Linked DNA regions of Homo sapiens: region 2 is linked to region 1. The links are contacts of gene promoters, found by promoter capture Hi-C in human tissues and cell types (Jung and others, 2019). All regions are on one chromosome and are shown on one strand. The core of a region is centred on a gene start or on the middle of the fragment in contact, and the rest is flanking DNA. Distances in the headings are between cores, read along the strand shown.

Evidence for each region. Contacts are between HindIII fragments. The study calls those that stand out against the background at their distance.
Region 2: a contact is called between a fragment that was not itself captured here and the fragment with the promoter of ESCO1 in region 1, in 1 of the 25 tissues and cell types used here (heart left ventricle).

Annotation. Positions count from the first base shown.
Region 1 is chr18:21,598,004-21,602,540 of GRCh38, reverse strand. ESCO1 (establishment of sister chromatid cohesion N-acetyltransferase 1) reads left to right here and starts at 1,837. Exons shown (of 12, transcript NM_052911.3): 1 at 1,837-1,918. RefSeq lists enhancers at 208-287, 1,612-2,131, 3,199-3,493. The HindIII fragment of the contact is 11,871 bases long and covers 1-4,537 here.
Region 2 is chr18:22,374,762-22,379,769 of GRCh38, reverse strand. No RefSeq gene overlaps it. Among named protein-coding and RNA genes, the nearest start is that of CTAGE1, 41 kb to the left of the region's middle. The HindIII fragment of the contact is 4,698 bases long and covers 1-4,000 here.

The DNA.
Region 1 (4,537 bases), core at 588-3,087:
TTGACAAACTTAGAGCACATTTTGGTTGTACTTGGCTTCAAAGAAGGAGGGCAGGAAGGGGAAAACCCATTTATGATCACCTCTTCCCATTCTGAAATGCAGAAGTACCGAACTAGCCTCACAGTTCCGCAAATAAGCAAAGGGTAGCACAGAACATATGTTCAAAAGCAGTCTAGTAGCCGGAGCAGTGGCTTAGGCCTGTAGTCCCAGCGCTTTGGGAAGCCAAGGAGAGAAGAGAGGATCACTTGAGGCCAGGAGTTCGAGATCAGCCTGGGCTGGTCTCAGTGAGACCTTATCCCTACAAAATATAAAAAAATTAGCCTGGCGGCCGGGCGCGGTGGCTTACGCCTGTAATCCCAGCACTTTGGGAGGCCGAGGCAGGTGGGATCACAAGGTCAGAAGTTCGAGACCAGCCTGGCCAAGATGGTGAAACCCCGTCTCTACTAAAAATAAAAAATTAGCCGGGCATGGTGGCAGGCACCTGTAGTCCCAGCTACTCAGGAGGCTGAGGCAGGAGAATTCCTTGAACCTGGGAGGCGGAGGTTGCAGTGAGCCGAGATCGTGCCATTGCACTCTAGCCTGGGTGACAAGAGTGAGACTCCATCTCAAAAAAAAAAAAAAAAATTAGCCTGGCATGGTGTCGTGGGCTTCATACATGCAGTTCTCAGGGAGGCTGAGGCAGGTGGGATCGCTTGAGCCCAAGTCGAGGCTGCAGTGAGCCGTTACTGTGCCACTGCACACCAGCCAGGGCTACACAGCAAGATCCTTCCTGTCACAAAAGAAAGAAGTGTGGGAACCATGAATCCTAGTGATAGAATCTTGGATTCTATCTCTAGAGGCGTCCAAGAGCGAGCCAAAGCTTTGTCTGAACACTCAGTCTGACTAAGTCTAGCAGAATATTTTACAATTTCTGATGATTCTTGCACTCTGATACACAGGAAGAAAGTGTGCAAGGAGAGGGCGAAGCCCTGCATTTTTTGGAGGTGCTGGAGGGCAGTGTAGGGACTGCACCCTCCTTTTTTTTTTATTTGAGACAGGGTCTCACTCGTCCAGACTAGAGTGCAGTGGCCCAGTCTCAGCTCACCACAACCTCCGCCTCCCAGGCTCAAGGGATTCTCCCGCCTCAGCCTCTCGAGTAGCTGGGATTACAGTCGCACGCCACTACCACCCGGCTAATTTTTGTATTTCTAGTAGAGACGGGGTTTCACCATGTTGGCCATGTTGGCCAGGCTGGTCTCGAACTCCTAACCTCAAATGATCCACCCGCCTCTGCTTCCCAAAGTGCTGGGATTACAGGCGTGAACCACCGCGCCCGGCCCCACCCTCCTTCTTTACATTGGCTCATATGGAAGACCAAAGGCACTTGGATTATACATCGCAGACAGAAGCAGCCAAAACCTACATGGCAACCAGTTGCGACAAATTTCCAAGGTAAACCACAACCGCTGGGGGCCTGGGTGGTTTTCAGCTCAAAGCGATGACCCCAGGAACGACAAGCGGCCGCCGCTAGGGGGCGCCGCCACTTCCCTGCCAGGCGACCACCCGCGGAGGCGCGCGCGCTAGGCCTCCCACCGCGCCTGCGCTGAGGATGGACACTAGCTCGCCTTTCCTCGACGCCCAGCCGTCCGGGCCGGGGTGAAAAACTGCGTGACACGCAGTGAGCGTGGCGGCCATCTTCGTCTTCTGGGCACGTCAGCTGAGCCGGTTAGGGCTGAAGAGGAGCGTTGCGCAAGCGCACCCAAGACGGTCACAGGTAACTCCCATCTGACGAGCGAGGCGTCGCCGTCGTCGCCGGAAGTTTGGTGTTTGCGCCGCGGGGGAGGCGGCGGCCGCAGCAGAAGCAGCTGAGTGTCTCCTGATACCCGGATGTGAGGCGATCCGCTGGCGCTAGTCTGACCCTCCGCCAGGCAAAAGGAAGGTACGCGAGCGTCCCTGACGGTCCCCGCCGCCTGTGTCTTCACCTCTCTTTTGCCAGCCCCTTCAGGGAGCGGACAGTTCTCCCTCTTCCTGTTCCACCCTCGGTGGCGTGTTGCCTCGCACGCCCCTTCCTACTGCTCCGGTCCCAGCTCTTCGCGCCCCTGGGAGGGAGGTGGGAGGCTCTAGGCTCCAAGACGCCGTCGCTTGAGGTAGGCAGCTAACGTGCTCGCGTGTCCGCGCACCACCTGCCGCTGTTTGCTGGGCGGTCGAAGTTCATAAGGGGTCGTGACCGCCGACGGGGCAGGGCCGGAGTTCCCAGCACTGCCGCGAGGGCTCCGGGAGCCCCGAGGTGGCGCGCAGCCATTGCTAGCACCGGGGCAGCGCCAGTGCTGGTCCCGCAGGTAGCTCCGGGCCCCGTCTCCGCCCCCTGCGTTTTCTCTTCCCGGCGCTTCACCGGAGCCAGTCCCTCGCCGCCTCCTGGCGCAACCCGCTGACCCGGCCTGAGCCTGGAGGCCTCTGCAGTTTGCGGGGCGCGATGTGGGGTCTTGGTTTTACAGCCTTCAGTTTGGGAGGGGAGCGGGCCCAAGGTCATAGAGTAACTCATGCTGCAAATGGGGGTCTCGGCACAGGTAGGGCGGCTCTGGAGTAGAAATGAGTGCATTGAGGGCCGCAGTGAAGTTTATAGCGATGGAGAGAGGCGAACCAAAGAGAATTGGGTCCTCGATTTTTATCACGGGTTAAGATTATTTTACTATGGGGGTTTATTTTGCACAGGCAGAATGGGATAGCAAGTCCAACAATTCGAAGACTACCTCCTCTCCCTCCGCCTCTCAATGATGCGTCCGAAAATCCGGCGTGTGCTTTATTTTCCGGGGCGATGGGGACGCAGCGGGGACCAGGGGAGGGAGGAAGAGGAGGAGGAAGGAGCTCAAGCTTTGCGATTTGAGAAGTACTATGAACCATGTTTTCTGTAGTCTTAGCTGCAATGAGATTCCTTTAAACAGGAATCGCAGCACACAGTATCTAGATAGTATTACAAAACGATATCTCAATAAATAAGCTTCGCAGGAAACAAAAGCGCTACTTGGTGGCATAAGGTGTGGTTAGTCCCCCCACCAGCATTGGCTTTTTTAAAAAAGTGGATAAAACATAGATTTCAGTTGAAAACATCCAGGTTGCAGTGAACTATGCTATATTCACTTTGTCTTCTGGTCAAGTACTTAGTTTCTGCTTTACACAGGACACCAACACGAATAAAGTTTTAAGTTATTATTTTATTTTGAGACGGGGTCTCGCTCTGTCGCCCAGACTGGATTGCAGTGGTGTAATCACTGTTCACTGCAGCCTTGACCTCCCTCCCCGGCCCCAAGCAATCCTCCCACCTCCGCCTCCCTGAGTGGCTGAGACTACAGGCGTCCGCTACCATGTTAGGCTAAGTTTTCTATTTGTTGTTGAGACGGCGTTTCGCCATGTTGCCCAGGCTGGTCTCGAACTCCTGGGATCAAGTGATCACCTGGGCCTCCAAAAGTGCTGGGATTACAGGCCTGAGCCACTGTGCCTGGTGAATTTTTTTTTTTTTTTGAAAAGCAAAAAATCTAATCAATGGAATTAGACATGGGAGTAGGATGAGAAGTGCTTTAAAACGTGCTTAATTTGGAAGTCGCAAATTCAGGCCTAGAGCATGTGAGGAAATGAGGAAACTAGGACTGTAATAGAGCCACTTTTTCCCTTTTAGGCAGAATGCAGAGTATCACTGTTGGGTCAGATATGTGACTTTGGAAGCACAATTCCAAAATTTGTCCTGGCTTACGAGCTAGAACTCCTTTATCATTGCTAACTGAGGAAAATATGCTATTGTCTCACCTTTCTCAATCAATATTATAATCCTGTAGTGAACAAGTAATTGTTTGTTTTTTTTTTTTGAGATGGAGTCTCACTCTGTCGTCCGGGCTGGAGGGCAGTGGCGAGATCTCGGCTCACTGCAATCTCCGCCTCCTGGGTTCAAGTGATTCTCCTGCCTCGGCCTCCCGAGTAGCTGGGATTACAGACAAGTGCCACCATGCCCGGCTAATTTTTTTGTATTTTTAGTAGAGATAGGGTTTCACCGTGTTGGCCAGGCTGGTCTTGAACTCCTGACCTCAGGTGATCCGCCTGCCTCGGCCTCCCAAAGTGCTGGGATTACAGGCGTGAGCCACCATGCCCGGCCAAGTAATTTTTTTAATGTCCGTCCCATACAAGGTGCTGGCATTTAAATTGATAAATTATGCTTCACAGAATAACTAAAAAAGTACCCTAATTAATGAATGCCATTAACTTCTTTTGCCAGATAGTCCTTTTTAGCTTGGTAATTTATTATGCAGAGCTGATTGTATTTATTCTGTTAATGAACGTGACCAGCGCTGCACAGTTCGAATAATGGATTTTTTTGTAATAGTTAAATATTTTTTCATGACTTTTATTGGCAGATTTTTGTACCACATAGAGTTCTTGGAATACCTTCTATTGAAGGTGATTAAAATTTAGGTACTAGAAACCAACTCCAGTAAAATTGTTACTGTAGATAATTAAGGACTATATTACCCCTTTTGTAACCCTGACTTTCATATTTTTCTGTGGATCA
Region 2 (5,008 bases), core at 402-2,901, 780 kb before region 1:
TTGCTACAAACATGGTGGCTTAAAAGAACAGAATTTATTCTTACAGTTCTGGAGGCCAGAAGTCCAAAATCAAAGTGTCCACAGGGCCACACTCCCACTGAAGGCTCTGGGTGACAATCGCTCCTTGCTCCTTCCAGCTTCTGGTGGCTGTCAGCTTTGCTTGTGGCCACAGCACTCCATCTCCATCTTCATCTTCATATGGCCTTCTCCTCCATGTCTCTGTCTCCTCTTCTCTGTCTTAGAATGACACTTGTCATAGGATTTAGGGCTCACCTGGATCATCCAGAATGATTTCATCTTGAGATCCTTAATTACATCTGCAGGTAAGACCTCTTTTTAAAAATTAGGTCACTTTCACAGGTTCTGAGTATACATACATTTTGGGTGGACTACCATTCAACCCACTACACTACTTAACTACTAACTTGGAAGCAGATGGTAACATTTCTTCAGCAGTTTTGACAATGTTACCACTGTAGCACTTTGAATGCCAACCAGTAGTTTGTGTCACTTAACCTTTCAACATCAACTTTCTTAAGAAATAGAAACTCAGCACTTAATTTTTTATTAATCATGCACTTAATTTTTAACCTCCTTGCTGCTGAAAGCATTTAATGTAAAATTTTAGAGAAATATTAACAAATAAAAATAAAGCAATATTTGTGATGCCCCCCATACAGTAAGTAACAAGATTACTCTAACAAGAGCATTTGGACTATGCCCTACAGACCGACTGCTCAGATCCTATTTCCCCCACATTTTTTACACACACATAACCTAAAATCTGCTTTATTTCCATTGGATGGTGCAGACTAATGGTCTACCAGCTTTGCACATCTCATAAACTGCAGCTGGAGCCATGGCACAACTAGATGGCACACCAAGTGACCAGCAGGGGCAGTCACATCAAATACCTCCCTAGATCTGAAGGAATGAGCTGTTCTGAGCTGCTCATACCCCACTGCACTTAGTTTTATCACTGAATGCCCTGCGTGCTATCCTTGAAAGGGAGATGCTAGTTATATTCCATCTAGAAAGAATGGGAAAAGAAACCCAGGAGAAGAGAGTGGGATTATTTCTGGTCCTTTTTCAAAATTACTAACATATGAAAGTGAGAATTCCAATCACTGCTATACAGCCTTGGAAGAAGTTCTTCTAATCAACAGGTTTACCAAATACTTGGCTTCATTTAACTCAATTAATAATAAAAATACTTTATTTAAAATAAAAAGTCAGTCTGGGTACAGTGATGCTCACCTGTAATCCCAGCTACTTGAGAGGCTGAGCTGGAAGGATCGCTTGAGGCTGGGAGTTTGAGACCAGCCTGGGCAACATACTGAGACCCCATCTTTAAACAAACAAATAAATAAATAAAAATAAAAACATTAAAACTCAGGAAAATTACAAACTACATGTAAAGGCAGGATAGTAGAGATAAGTTAGGACCATCCTAGGCAATCAGAGACATGAATTATCTTACCTAGAACTCACATAGGTTTTTCCATCTCTATAGTTTAACCTTTTCGAGAAAGTCATACATGTGGAAACTTCCTTCTGAGTCTGGCTTCTTTAACGTGGCATAATGCATTTGAGATTCATTCATGTTGTTGCATGTATCAATAGTTGATTATTTTTATTGCTGAGTATGGATGTATCAAAATTTGTTTATCCATTCACCTGTTATAAGGCATTTAACTTGTTTTCAGTTTTTGGTGATTACAGATAGTACTGCTATAAATATTCATGTACAGGTTTTTGTGAAAACATAAGTTTTCATTTCTTTAGGTTAAACATTTAAGAGTAGAATTGCTGAGTCATATGGAAAATGCATATGTAATTTTATAAGAAATTGCCAAACTGTTTTTCAAAAATGGTGGCTGTTCTTTGGCAGTCCTACCTGCAATATATGAAAATTCCAGTTGCCCTGAATGTTCACCGGCACTTGGTACTGCCAGGCTTATTTGATTGTTTTTTAACCACTCTAATATGTATGCAGTGGTATCTTTTATGGTTTTCATTTGCATTTTCCTAATGAATAATATTGAGCTTCCTTCCACATACTTATTTGTCACATATATGTCTTGTTTGGTGAAGTGTTAACATTTTTTGCCAATTATATAATTGAGTTTCTTTCTTTCTTATTGAGGTTTGAGAGCTCTTCATATATTCTAGACATAAGCTTCTTATCAGAGATGTGATTTTCAAATATTTTCACTCAGTGTACAGCTTGTTTTTTTATTCTTTTAGCAGTTATTTGCTCAGAGCAAGAGATTTCAATTTTTATGAAGTTCACTTATCAATTTTTTAATTGATCATATTTTTAGTATTATATCTGAGAGAAAGCTTTCACTGAACTCAAGATCACAAAGATTTTCTTCCCTTTTTTCTTTTAATAATTTTATGGATTTTTTATGTTTAGTTCTCTGACGCATTTTAATTTTTAAAAGGTATGAGGTTTAGGTCTAGGTTCTTATTTTGTAAACGGACGTCCTATTAGTCCAACACCGTTTGTTGAAAAGACAATCCTTTCTCCATTGGATTGCTTTCCATCTTTGTCAAAATCAACTGATCATATTTATGTGGTTCTATTTCTGCACTCTCTATCTGTTCCATTTATCTATGTGTTTATCCTTTTGCCCATACCACACTGTCTTGATGATTATGATGTTATAGTAAGTCTTCAGTTCAGGTAGTGTGAGTCTTCTAACTTTGTTCTTTTTCAAAACCATTCTGGCTGTTGTAATTCCTCTGCCTTTCCATAAAAATGTTAGGATCAGCTATAAAAATCCTGCTATTTTACTTGGGATTGCATTGAATCTATATCAATATGGGGAGGATGAACATGTTAATAAGACTGAGTTTTTCAACCCATGAACAGAGTATATTTTTTCATTTATTTCCATCTTTGTTGATTTTTTTCATTAGCATTTTGTCATCTTCAGCATACCAACCTACATGTACTTTGCTAGATTCACAACTATTTCATTTTTTGATTTTTTTGGAGCTATTGTAATTGATCCTTTCTTTGTAATTTCTATTTGACATTGTTTATTGTTAGTACATACATATATGAGGTTTTTATATTTACCATGTATCTTGCAACATTGCTAAACTCATTAATTCCAGTTTTCTAGAAGATTCATTGGGATTTTCTATGTAGACAATCATGCCATCTGTGAACAGAGGCAGTTTTATTTTTTTTCTTTCCATTGTAAATGCATTTTTCCCCTTACTATACTATGGCTGGGACTGCCAGCATGATATTGCCTTATTCCTGATCTTAGGGGGAAAGCATTCTGTCTTTCACTATTAAGTATGTTAGTTGCAGGGTTTTTGTTAATGCCATTCATCAGATTAAAAAAATTCCTCTATTTCTAGTTTGTTGAAAGTTTAAAATACAAATAGATGTTGAACTTTGTCAAATGCTTTTCTGCATCTACTAACATGATTATATGTTTTTCTTCTTTAGTAGGTTAATAGGGTATTTGCACCGATTGACTTTCAAATGTGAACCAGACTTCATTCCTGAAATAAACCCTACTTAGCCAAAAAGTTTTTATATACATTACTAGATTTAATTTTTTAATATTTTGAGAATTTTTGTATTTATGCTTATGAGGGATATTGGTCTGCAGCTGTCTCTCCTGCTGTATCATTGTCTGGTTTTGATATTAGAATAATTCTAGCCTCATAAGATGAGCATCCTCTTTTACTTTTCTGAAGACATTGTGTAGAACTGATATTATTTCTTTTTAAAATAATCACCAGTGAAACCATAAGGTTTTCTTTGTTGGAAAGTTTTTAACTACAATTTCTTTAACAGATAAGTACTAGTGAGGTTATCTATTTCTTCTTGAGTGAGCTTTGGTAGTTTGGGTCTTTCAGGGAATTGGTCCATTTCATCTATGTTGTTAAATTTATTTACATAAAGTTGTTCTTAATATTTTCATACAATTTTAACTTCTATAGGGTCAGTAGAAAGGCACCTCTTTCACTCCTGATTTTGGAAACTTGTAGTCTTCTCTTTTTCTTGATCAGTTTAGCTGAAAGTATTTCCTTTTTCATTTAAAAATTTTTTTTGAGAAACAGTTTTGTTACTTTGGTTCTCTATTGTTTTTCCTTTTTCTGTTTCATTGATTTTGGTTTTAGTCTCTTATTTCCTTTCTGGTGCCTGCATTGGACCAGTTTGCTCTTTCTTTTCTGGTTTCTTAAGGTGAAAACTCTTAATGGTTACTCTTTCATGGTGTATGTTTCTTCTATCCTCTTATTTTCAACCTATTTGTATCTTTGAACCTAATGTGTGTCTCTTATACACAGCATATAGTTAGATACGACTTTTTATCCAGTTTTTTAATCCACTGATTCTTTCTTCTGCCATCTCAATTCTGCTGTTGACCCCTTCTAATTAATTTTACTTTCAGTTATTGTACTTCTCAATTCTGAATTTCCATTTAATTCATTTTTACAGTTTCTGTCTCATTGAAAGTCTCTATTTATTGAATCATTTTAGCCATACCTTCCTTTAATTCTTTAGTTTCCTTTAGCTCTTCGAACATATTATAATACCTGCCTTGAAGCCTTTGCCCTCTAAATCCAACATTTGATACTTAGAGATAGACAGTTTCTAATGACTGCTTTTTCCCCCACTGAACATGGGCACACTTTTCATTTCTTTGGTCTCATTTTTCATTGAAAACTGAATTTGTGTGTGTGTGAGAGAGACAGGGTCTGGCTCAGTCGCCCAGGCTGGAGTGCAGTGGTGCAATCTCGATTCACTGCAGCCTCAGCCTCCCAGGCTCAGGCAATCCTCCCACCTCAGCCTCCTGAGTAGCTGGGACTACAGGCATGCACCACCACACCTGGCTAATTTTTGTGTTTTTTGTAGAGATGGGGTTTCACCATGTTGCCCAGGCTGGCCTCAAACTCCTGAGCTCAAGTGCTCTGCCTGCCTCAGCCTCCCAATGTTCTGGGATTACAGGAATGAGCCACTGTGCCCAACCAAAAAAAA